Regions from separate parts of the Homo sapiens genome. Here region 1 is linked to region 2. Evidence: promoter capture Hi-C in human tissues and cell types (Jung and others, 2019). All regions are on one chromosome and are shown on one strand. Each heading gives the region's core, a stretch centred on a gene start or on the middle of the fragment in contact. The rest is flanking DNA. Distances are from core to core; before and after follow the strand shown.

What was found. The method cuts DNA at HindIII sites, captures the fragments that hold promoters and counts their contacts. A contact is called where the count stands out against the background at its distance.
Region 1: a contact is called between a fragment that was not itself captured here and the fragment with the promoter of ABCA8 in region 2, in 2 of the 25 tissues and cell types used here (H1 embryonic stem cells and adrenal gland).

Annotation. Positions count from the first base shown.
Region 1 is chr17:69,121,600-69,126,223 of GRCh38, reverse strand. ABCA6 (ATP binding cassette subfamily A member 6) reads left to right here. Exons shown (of 39, transcript NM_080284.3): 9 at 1,189-1,336; 10 at 2,817-2,985. Among named protein-coding and RNA genes, the nearest start is that of ABCA6, 18 kb to the left of the region's middle. The HindIII fragment of the contact is 4,600 bases long and covers 1,057-4,624 here.
Region 2 is chr17:68,953,096-68,957,731 of GRCh38, reverse strand. It overlaps ABCA8 (ATP binding cassette subfamily A member 8), which reads left to right and starts at 2,340. Exons shown (of 40, transcript NM_001288985.2): 1 at 2,340-2,513. The HindIII fragment of the contact is 19,891 bases long and covers 1-4,636 here.

The DNA.
Region 1 (4,624 bases), core at 2,107-4,606, 170 kb before region 2:
ACTGATTTCTGTACATTGGCGTTCTATCCAGCATTCTTGCTATATTCTCTTACTAAACCCAATATTTTTCTGGGTTTTATACATATATAATCATGTTGTCTTCAAATAATGATGGCTTATATTTTTCCCATCGCAATCCTTATGCTTTTTATTTCTTTTTCCTACTTTCCTGCACAGGTCCGGACCTCTAGTACAATAATGAATAGAAATGCAGGCAAAATAAAAGCTTTCTACATTGTGCCATTAAGTATGATGCTTATTGTTGGTCTCAGTGCATGTAATTCACCAGATTAAGGAAGATTCATCTTAGTTTATGAAGATATTTTCTTTACTATGAATAGATATTACATTTTACCAAATGGTTTTTCTGTGTCTATTATATTGATCACATTATTTTCCTATTTAATGTTTGATGTTGAATTACATTGATTGATTTTCAAATGTTGACTCAATTTTGGATTCCTAGAATAAATTCAACTTTATCATGAAAATGTTAACATTTTAACATAGACTGAGAAGCTGTAGAGTGTGCAGGGTAAGGAACTGGCCCTAAGAGTAAGACTTTCTTTGTTCTAATTTCACTTCGCCACTTTTGGCTACTCAACTTCGCTGTGCCTTAGTTTTATCATATGTAAAGTGCAGATTAAAATCTTATTATTTTTATAAGCCTTATTGCTTATCTGATAGGGTTTTAAGGAAGATTAAATGGGATAATATACAAAACACTTAGGACAGTGCCTAGAACATAGTCGCTGTTATTATGTGGCAAAATTCTAAATACAAACTTTTATTTGAAATAATAACTAGAAAAGGAGGTAAGTTCTCTTTTTATCTAATTAAAGGCGTCCAAGAATTTCTTATATTCTTTCCAAAATTTATATCTCCTTTGTTGCCCAGAATAGATATTTGTAATACTGCAATGATTTTCTGAAAACAAACAAATGAATTATAATTTAAATTATTATACTTAGAACATTGTATTTATTAAATAAATATTTCTTTCTAATTATTTTTCATTGTAAAATAGAAATATTTTGACCAATACCTTTATTTACTTATTTATATATTTGACTAGTAACTACTAAGTGCCTCTTGAAAAAGCTAGTTAATAAATTAATACTTTTTCCTGCTATGCCAAGCTATTTATTTATTTATTTTAAACATTTATTTTTATTTTTTGAATCTTAGATTATCAAACTGGATTATAACTTGAATGGTGTAATTTTTCCTGACCCTTCAGGAGACTCATATACAATGATAGCAACTTTTTCTATGTTGCTTTTGGATGGTCTCATCTACTTGCTATTGGCATTATACTTTGACAAAATTTTACCCTGTAAGTAATAGTGAGTTTTTCTCTGTCCTCTACAGTTATTAATTACATTGAATATATTTTTTAAGATTATATAGACTTTTAAAATGAATATTAAATATTTCCCATTTCAAACTAATAAGTTCATTATTTCTACTTCATAGTTCTAATGGTCTAATGAAATTTTTATGTAAAAACAATTCTTCTTATGACTTTACTATAGCAATATATTATAATTATATGACAACAATAATTATAATACATCTTGTAATTGTGTGGTAATTAAATAATGTTAGGTTTTCATGGATCCCTGAAAGTGTTTTGAAAGGGTCATATTAGGATTTATGTCAAAACAAGATAAAAGAAATTAGTTCTTATGGTGGTTTGGCTCTCGGGAGGCCATTATACTGTGGAAGAGCTTTCTCATGAATATTTGTTCAGCATCATTCTCAAAATGTTTTATATATTGTTCATATTTACAGAAGTATATTGATCGCCCAGTTAAATTATCTTGCAAACAACCAAAAATGTCACGTAAGCCCAGAATTTTTTCACACATTCTAGAATCAGAAAGCTTTTTTTCTGGCACAATCTTCTTGTTTATCCTCTTATTTTATATGTTCCTTCCACTATTTAAGGTTGTCTTATAGGTTTTCTATGTATTTACTTGTATATATTCCTGTCTTTCTGTGACTTCTGGTTGATATGTGAAGGCCCTTAATAATAAATTCAACTTTGTTTTTTAAACTGGAAAAATATATTTAAAATATCACTATAAATTTATTCTAAACAAATACAGTTTCTCCATGTATTCATGCCTAAGCAGGAATATATAGATTTCAATATTATGTTCAATTATGTTGCTGTGGTCAAATTATTTAAGTTGACAAACATGTCTACAATTATTTTTATGCACTGTATTAAGGCTTTGTGTCTTCCCAAATATTTGGTTTCATTCATTCTCCTAAATACCTTTTAGATCACATTTTAAAAAAATTTAATAAATATGTTTATTGGGTGATACAAATCTGTTTTTCATGAGCCTATTAAGGATAATGCAACCCATTGTTAAGACTGGAAAAAAAGGACATATAATGGTTTCCTTGTTGGGTGTCCTTTTCTACAGATGTAGACAACAGAGGCTCTAAGATCTGTACTAATGTCTTGATCAGGGAAAAGCTGGAGTCCAACTCAGCTGGTCATACACCTAATATTTTATTCGAACCTCACTTTCCTATTGACTTTCTTTTTTTTGATCACATTCTATTTATACTTTGTTGAAAGCTGTATTATATTGTTTAATTTTGCAATATGTTATTTCCTTTGAATTCCCATTGTTTACTTCATCATCAAGTTTTCTTCTTAATAATAAATTGAGTTTTAGAAGAAAAAATGTCTCTATGATGCTTAAAACTTCAAGGCATTCTGCATTGTTGTTAGCAAGGCTTCTTTGCGCATTCTTTTACTATTACTGATCATATTTTGTTGCCTCTTGGTTAATTAGATGGAGATGAGCGCCATTATTCTCCTTTATTTTTCTTGAATTCATCATCTTGTTTCCAACACCAAAGGACTAATGCTAAGGTTATTGAGAAAGAAATCGATGCTGAGCATCCCTCTGATGATTATTTTGAACCAGTAGCTCCTGAATTCCAAGGAAAAGAAGCCATCAGGTAATCACACTTATAAGTAATACTAATGCATGAGCACAAGGCTGAAGAATTATTATTATTTTTAATTTTATTATTATTATACTTTAAGTTTTAGGGTACATGTGCACAACGTGCATGTTTGTTACATATGTATACATGTGCCATGTTGGTGTGCTGCACCCATTAACTCGTCATTTAGCATTAGGTGTATCTCCTAATGCTATCCCTCCCCCCTCCCCCTACCCCAGAACAGTCCCTGGTGTGTGATGTTCCCCTTCCTGTGTCCATGTGTTCTCATTGTTCAATTCCCACCTATGAGTGAGAACATAAGGCTAAAGAATTATTAACCGAGAGCATCAGGGTGAGCTTGAGGCAAAATATTGAAGGAGAAGATATTTGTTTTTGTCAATGTCACTTTGAACTGCTCCATTTCCATCACCACCAATTTCTTCTGTTACTTGAAAGGAAAATCCTCCTTGTTTATCAGCTCTGTATCATATTATCCAGCCACACTTCATCTTGTCCCCCTTTCTGCCTCTTTCTCTTGTGCCCACCTCTCTTTTATACTTGCTCCTTTCATTCTGTGAACCCCTCTCTCCATGGTTTCATCTGGTTTTATATGATAAGTTGGAAGAAGTAAGAAATTCTGAATCAGAAATTCTTAGATCCTAATACTCTCCTCTCTCATTTGATGTGTACTCTTGGAAAAATGAGTAAATTTTATGAGTCTCAGTGTCTTCTATGAAACAAGATTAATATTGACTTTGTAGGGTTGTTATGAGACTTGGTATATCACAGAATTGCATGAGGAGCATTTAGAATATCTGTTTTTAGCCAGGGATTCTAACTCAGCAGTTTTGGGATTGAACCCAAGTATCATGGATTTCAAAATAGCTTTGTAGATTTTTCTACAAAGTTTGGTACAAAGTTAATGGATCAGCGCTTTAAATAGCAATCGTTTATTTATTAACAGATGTTTACTTAGTGCTGACTATGTACCTGACTTGCACATAATTCGCACAAAAAGCTTACGAGGTAGGTATCTTTATTTTCCCCATTTTGAGAATACAAAAAGTGAAGCAATGAAAGCTTAAGCCTTTTACCCAATATCACACAACTCGCAAGTGGGGAACTGGAATTGTAATCCAGATAGTCTGGCTCTACAGTCTATGCTCTTAACATACTATTGAGATGTCAGGAGGCAAAGAAAAATGAATAAATAGAGAACCATATCTAGGAAGTGAAATATTTCCAAGACAAAGAGGCCTAACCCATATACCTAAGCTTCCTCCATCTAGTTCTTAACCAATTTTCCGTTTAAGTTTTCTGAGAGGGGCAACAGCGCTTCCTCTGCTCTAGCTAGGAGTATACCAGCTCCATAGAAAATTTCTATCCAAACAAGAAAGGCCAAGTGAGGAATAATTCCATAAAACTCAGTTCCAGTGTCATCAATCCTTCTTTACCAGTTGAGGGCACAAAATAATATTGTATTATATTATTATTCAAATTATAAAAATTTTCAGATCCAATCTTCTAACAAAATCTTTTACTTACAAAGACCTCAAAATTTTCTTTGTTCTTCTACTGCTGCCTAGTGACCTAGGAAAGAAAGTAAAATGTGCTCCACCCCCACCTTCCCCCAACTTCTCCCTTCTTCTCC
Region 2 (4,636 bases), core at 1,091-3,590:
GCATTGGTCTCTGCATTTCTTCTCCCCATGTGGAATACTGTTCTTGATTAAGTGTCATGGCTGGGGATAAAGTTGGGAGAATTGTCAAAGGTGCCCACTTTCCCTTCTGCATTATGATAGTTTTTACCCTACAGGCCAAGGACTCAGCATGGAAGTTATTCTAACTACTAGATATGTCAATTCTAACAGCACATTTGGTGACAGCAAAATCACCACTGGGTATGTCCATAAGTCCAGTGAGACGAGGCAGAGCTGCTTGTTAACCGGAACTCCATTTACGACCTTGGCTCTATATTCTCAATCTAGCTGTAGGGCCTTAGTGTGGGTTGCAGTTATCAATGTCCACTCTGACTTTATGCCCAACAACCCTTGACATGTCTGGGGATTTTTCTTTCTTCAGTGTATAATCACCCAAATAATGGCTTTAGGTCCCTTTGAGGGAGGACTAGGAAGTATAATCACCACAGTATATACTTGTCAAGATGTTGCAAGATCTTTTCTTCTAGGGGTCTGACTAGTTTTTTAATCAATATGTTCTGTATCTGAAAAGTAGCTTAGGACTAGGAGCTGAGCAAGAGATCATGACTTTTTATTGGGGTGATGGAGACCATGTTGAGCCTCTTACTCCTCTATTTCTTCCCCTTCTGGTTATATAGTTACTGAGCAGCACCCTTGTTGACCTCCTTCCTATTTTGTCTGTATATCATAGTAAGGTTTATATATTTCACTTAAAATGAAGAAATATTAATTCTGGGTAAAGCATGTCAAGTTAAGTATGTCTTTTGTAATCCTGAGAGTGACCACTAAAATAACTATACAAATAGATACAGTTAAGAAACATAATAGATACGTTGAAATGCAATACCAAAAAATAATTTCAAATAACCAACAAGAAAGCAGAAAATGGGAAATAGGAGAATTAAAACCAGAGAGAAAAGAAGCAAATAACAAAATGGCAGATCTGATTTTAAAAATCAATAGCTACATAAAATGAAAATAATTTAAACACACCCATTAAAAGATGTGCATTGTCAAATTGGATTTTAAAAACCAAACTCATGACTCTATTATATGCCATCTACAAGAAACTCACTTGAAATACAATTTAGAGCTGGGTATAGTGGCATGTATCTGTAGTTTCAGCTACTCAGGAGTCTGAGATGGGAAGATCACTTGAACCCAGGAGTTCAAGTCCAGCCTTGGCAACATAGCAAGACCATCATCTTAAAAAAATAATAACAAACACAGACGCACACACACACATACACACACACGCATACACATATAATATGAATGTGATGTTTGGCAGGGCCAACAGAATTGAGATCATAACTGCCACTCTGAAAGCATATAGTGTGTGTGTGTGTGTGTGTGTGTGTAGATAAAAATAAACGGATGAAAACAAAATACCACGAAAACAATAATCACAGGAAAGTAAGAATGGCTATATTATTAATATGAAACAAAGTAGACTTTAGAACACAAAAGTTACTAGAGATAAAGATTAACATTACATAATGATAAAAGGGTCAATTCACCAAGAAGACATAACAATTCCAAATGTTGCAAAATACATCAGGCAAAACATGATAGTTTTAAAGGGAGAAATTTGAAAGTCCCTAAGTTTTGTTAAAATCTTCAACATTCCTCTCTTAGTAATCAACAGAACTAGGAGACAGAAAATTAGGAAAAATATAGAAAAAACTGAACAATATCATCAACCAACTAAATGTAATAGATATTATATAATATTCCACTCAACACCAAAAAACTATACAACTTTTCAAGTGCCTATGGAATATCTGCCAAGATAGATCATATCCTGGGTCATCAAATAAGCCTTAACAAATTTGACATACAAAATATTTTTTCTGAGTATAATTGAACTTCTGATTTAAAATTAAATCAATAACCAAAAGATAAGAAAATCTTCAGACACTTGGAAATTAAGCACATTTCTGATTAATCCGTGGGTCAAATAAATTGGAAAATAGTCTGAACTGAGTGAAAATGAAGCTGGGAAGCAGAGGAATGAAAATTTTGATTATCTAGGTAAAGCTGTCAATTAAGCAGACTAGAGCTCTGGGTAGAGAGAAGAGCTTTTCTCTGATTAAGCTGTTTACTTTCTCATGGCTTAAAGACAGCACTTTAAATTTTGGTATTAGCCACAATAATCTTGGACGTAAAAGAGAAATTGCTCCCTATAATATGATATAGCCAGGCAACCCAGTATAAATGCCACTGCTCTGCAGGAACTGGCCGAATATCAATGAGAAGACAAACAGTCCAAGCATGATGACGTGAATGTGATGTTTGGCAGGGCCAACAGAATTGAGATCATAACCTCCACTCTGAAAGCAGTCTTCACAGAAACTTTTCACAGAAGTCAAATAGTTAAAGCAAATTCTAGATACATGGTAGAGACCAGGAGAAAATATGAATAACTTTCTTCTAAACAAGGAGCTCAGTGGATAAACCATACCTCTAGATTCCTTGCTTCCATTTTCCCAGAAGTAAGTTCACTGTATTTTTTCTGTTTTGTTTTGTATTTTGCTTTTGTGTGTGAGTTTGTTTCAGAGGTTTTGTCTTTTCTTATTCCTATCACAAAATTATAAATAAACCTTTATAAACTGAATGACAATCATCTATGCAGAAATTATTTTGAAAAATATTGGGCTACTTTAAAGATTTTATATCTGGTAATTAATATTAGATAAATAAAAACATTGAGTTAGAATGTTTTTTAAAAAATTATGCAAACATTATGTTGTTTTAAACATAACTGAGTGTAGAAATAAGTTTAAATTGGCTAAAAATTTTTTGTGAAGAGCTTAGAGTTTTAAGAATTGGGTTGGAAGACTGAGTTGTTTTTGAAGTTAAAGTTATCTACTTTGATTGCACAATAATGTAGGGCATTTTGGATAAGTGTTCTTCTGACTTTAAGACTGTTTACCAAGAGCACTTACAGAAATATTTTTATTGTTCCTATCGCTCACTCTTAGTCTATAAGAATTTTAGAAATGTAAGATTCTTTCTAGGATCTTTTACTCGTTGGATACAGTGAGTTGAATCAGAATGTGAAATATGTAGCTTCTCTTTACCACAATGTTATTTAAAATGTACATTGGTAAAAAGAATTTTCATACTCCTATAGTGAATACATGTTGTTCTGAATTTTACAACAGTATAAGAGGATAAAAATGAGTCATTACAATTTGAGACTATTTGCCATATGTATAATAAAGTATTCATGTTTTTGCTAGCCTTTACATAAACTGCAGAACATACAAAAATTGGAAAGAAACAAAGTTGGCAATAATACTTTACGATGGAAGATATAAGGGATTGGAGTCAGACTGGAGTTTGCATGCTACCTAAGACTGTAGCTGATTCCATAGTGAGGAGATCATCCTCTTGGCCAATGTCTATTAACTTCGCCAGTGAATTATGCATTTCTGTAGAGAAGCTGTGATATATTTGGGCTTGTGCATGAGGTGGAGTGTAGGGAAACATCACACTCTGGGGACTGTTGTGGGGTGGGGGGAGGGGGGAGGGATAGCATTGGGAGATATACCTAATGCTAGATGACGAGTTAGTGGGTGCAGCGCACCAGCGTGGCACATGTATACATATGTAACTAACCTGCACAATGTGTACATGTACCCTAAAACTTAAAGTATAATAATAAAACGAAAAAAAAAAAAGAAATTCCTCCTGTACAGAGCTTGCATTGGCGGCAGCTGCTTTAAGAACCCAGAAACTTTTGCCCTCTCTGTAGGCTAGCTCACTGTGAAAATATCCCATGGATTTTACCTAAAATTGCTTACAGAGAGCGGCATTATACTTCTATAGATAATTGCATCAGTAACCAGAGAGGAGAAGTACAGCAGCAGACTACCCTCTACCCCCGGTAGGAGTAGTAGCACATCACAGTTTCAGCAAGTTCAATCTTGAGCAAAGAACATGATGTGATTGTTTGTGGGTATGTCTGTATACGGAGTGTGATTTTAGGTAAGGAGAGCCTTGCACAGCTCTCTTAAAAGTATCCATGCTGAATTTTCTGCACCTTAACCTAGGCTGCTTTACTCTTGGAACTGTCTTTCCCTCTTCTCCTTCCATGGGCTCTCTGACCTCTTTACTTGGTCTGCTTCCACTTAGGCCTGCCCCTCAGCCTCATTGCATGGCCATGTGTAGGTTCTTCTTCTAGCAGTGTTCTCTGAGACTGCTGTGGCTAATGTGCCTTCTGTTGCAACTGACCCCTGGACACCTTACTTGAGATTTGGCTCTAGAAAGTAGCACCACCCTGTGTGTGATCCTGTCCCATAAATGAGATGATGGCTTCAGTTGGGGCTCATTCACTTCTCATCACTATGGAGGAGTTCATAGAAACTGCATGGCCAACATGGCATGCATACGGAGGGAGATCACTTGCTTCAGAAGTCAGGACTTATGAGCCAAATGATGGTCTTCAGGGTGGAGCTGCTGGCTTTGTGCTCAAAAGTCTGGACCCATTCTTCCAAGTCATGTCCTTCACATGCTTCCCAGAAAACTGATGATGGTACCTTCCAGAATCTCTTTACTTTCTATAATTCAGCTTAGGTAGCCTGTTTTCTCCCACGGCAAAGACCATTTGAAA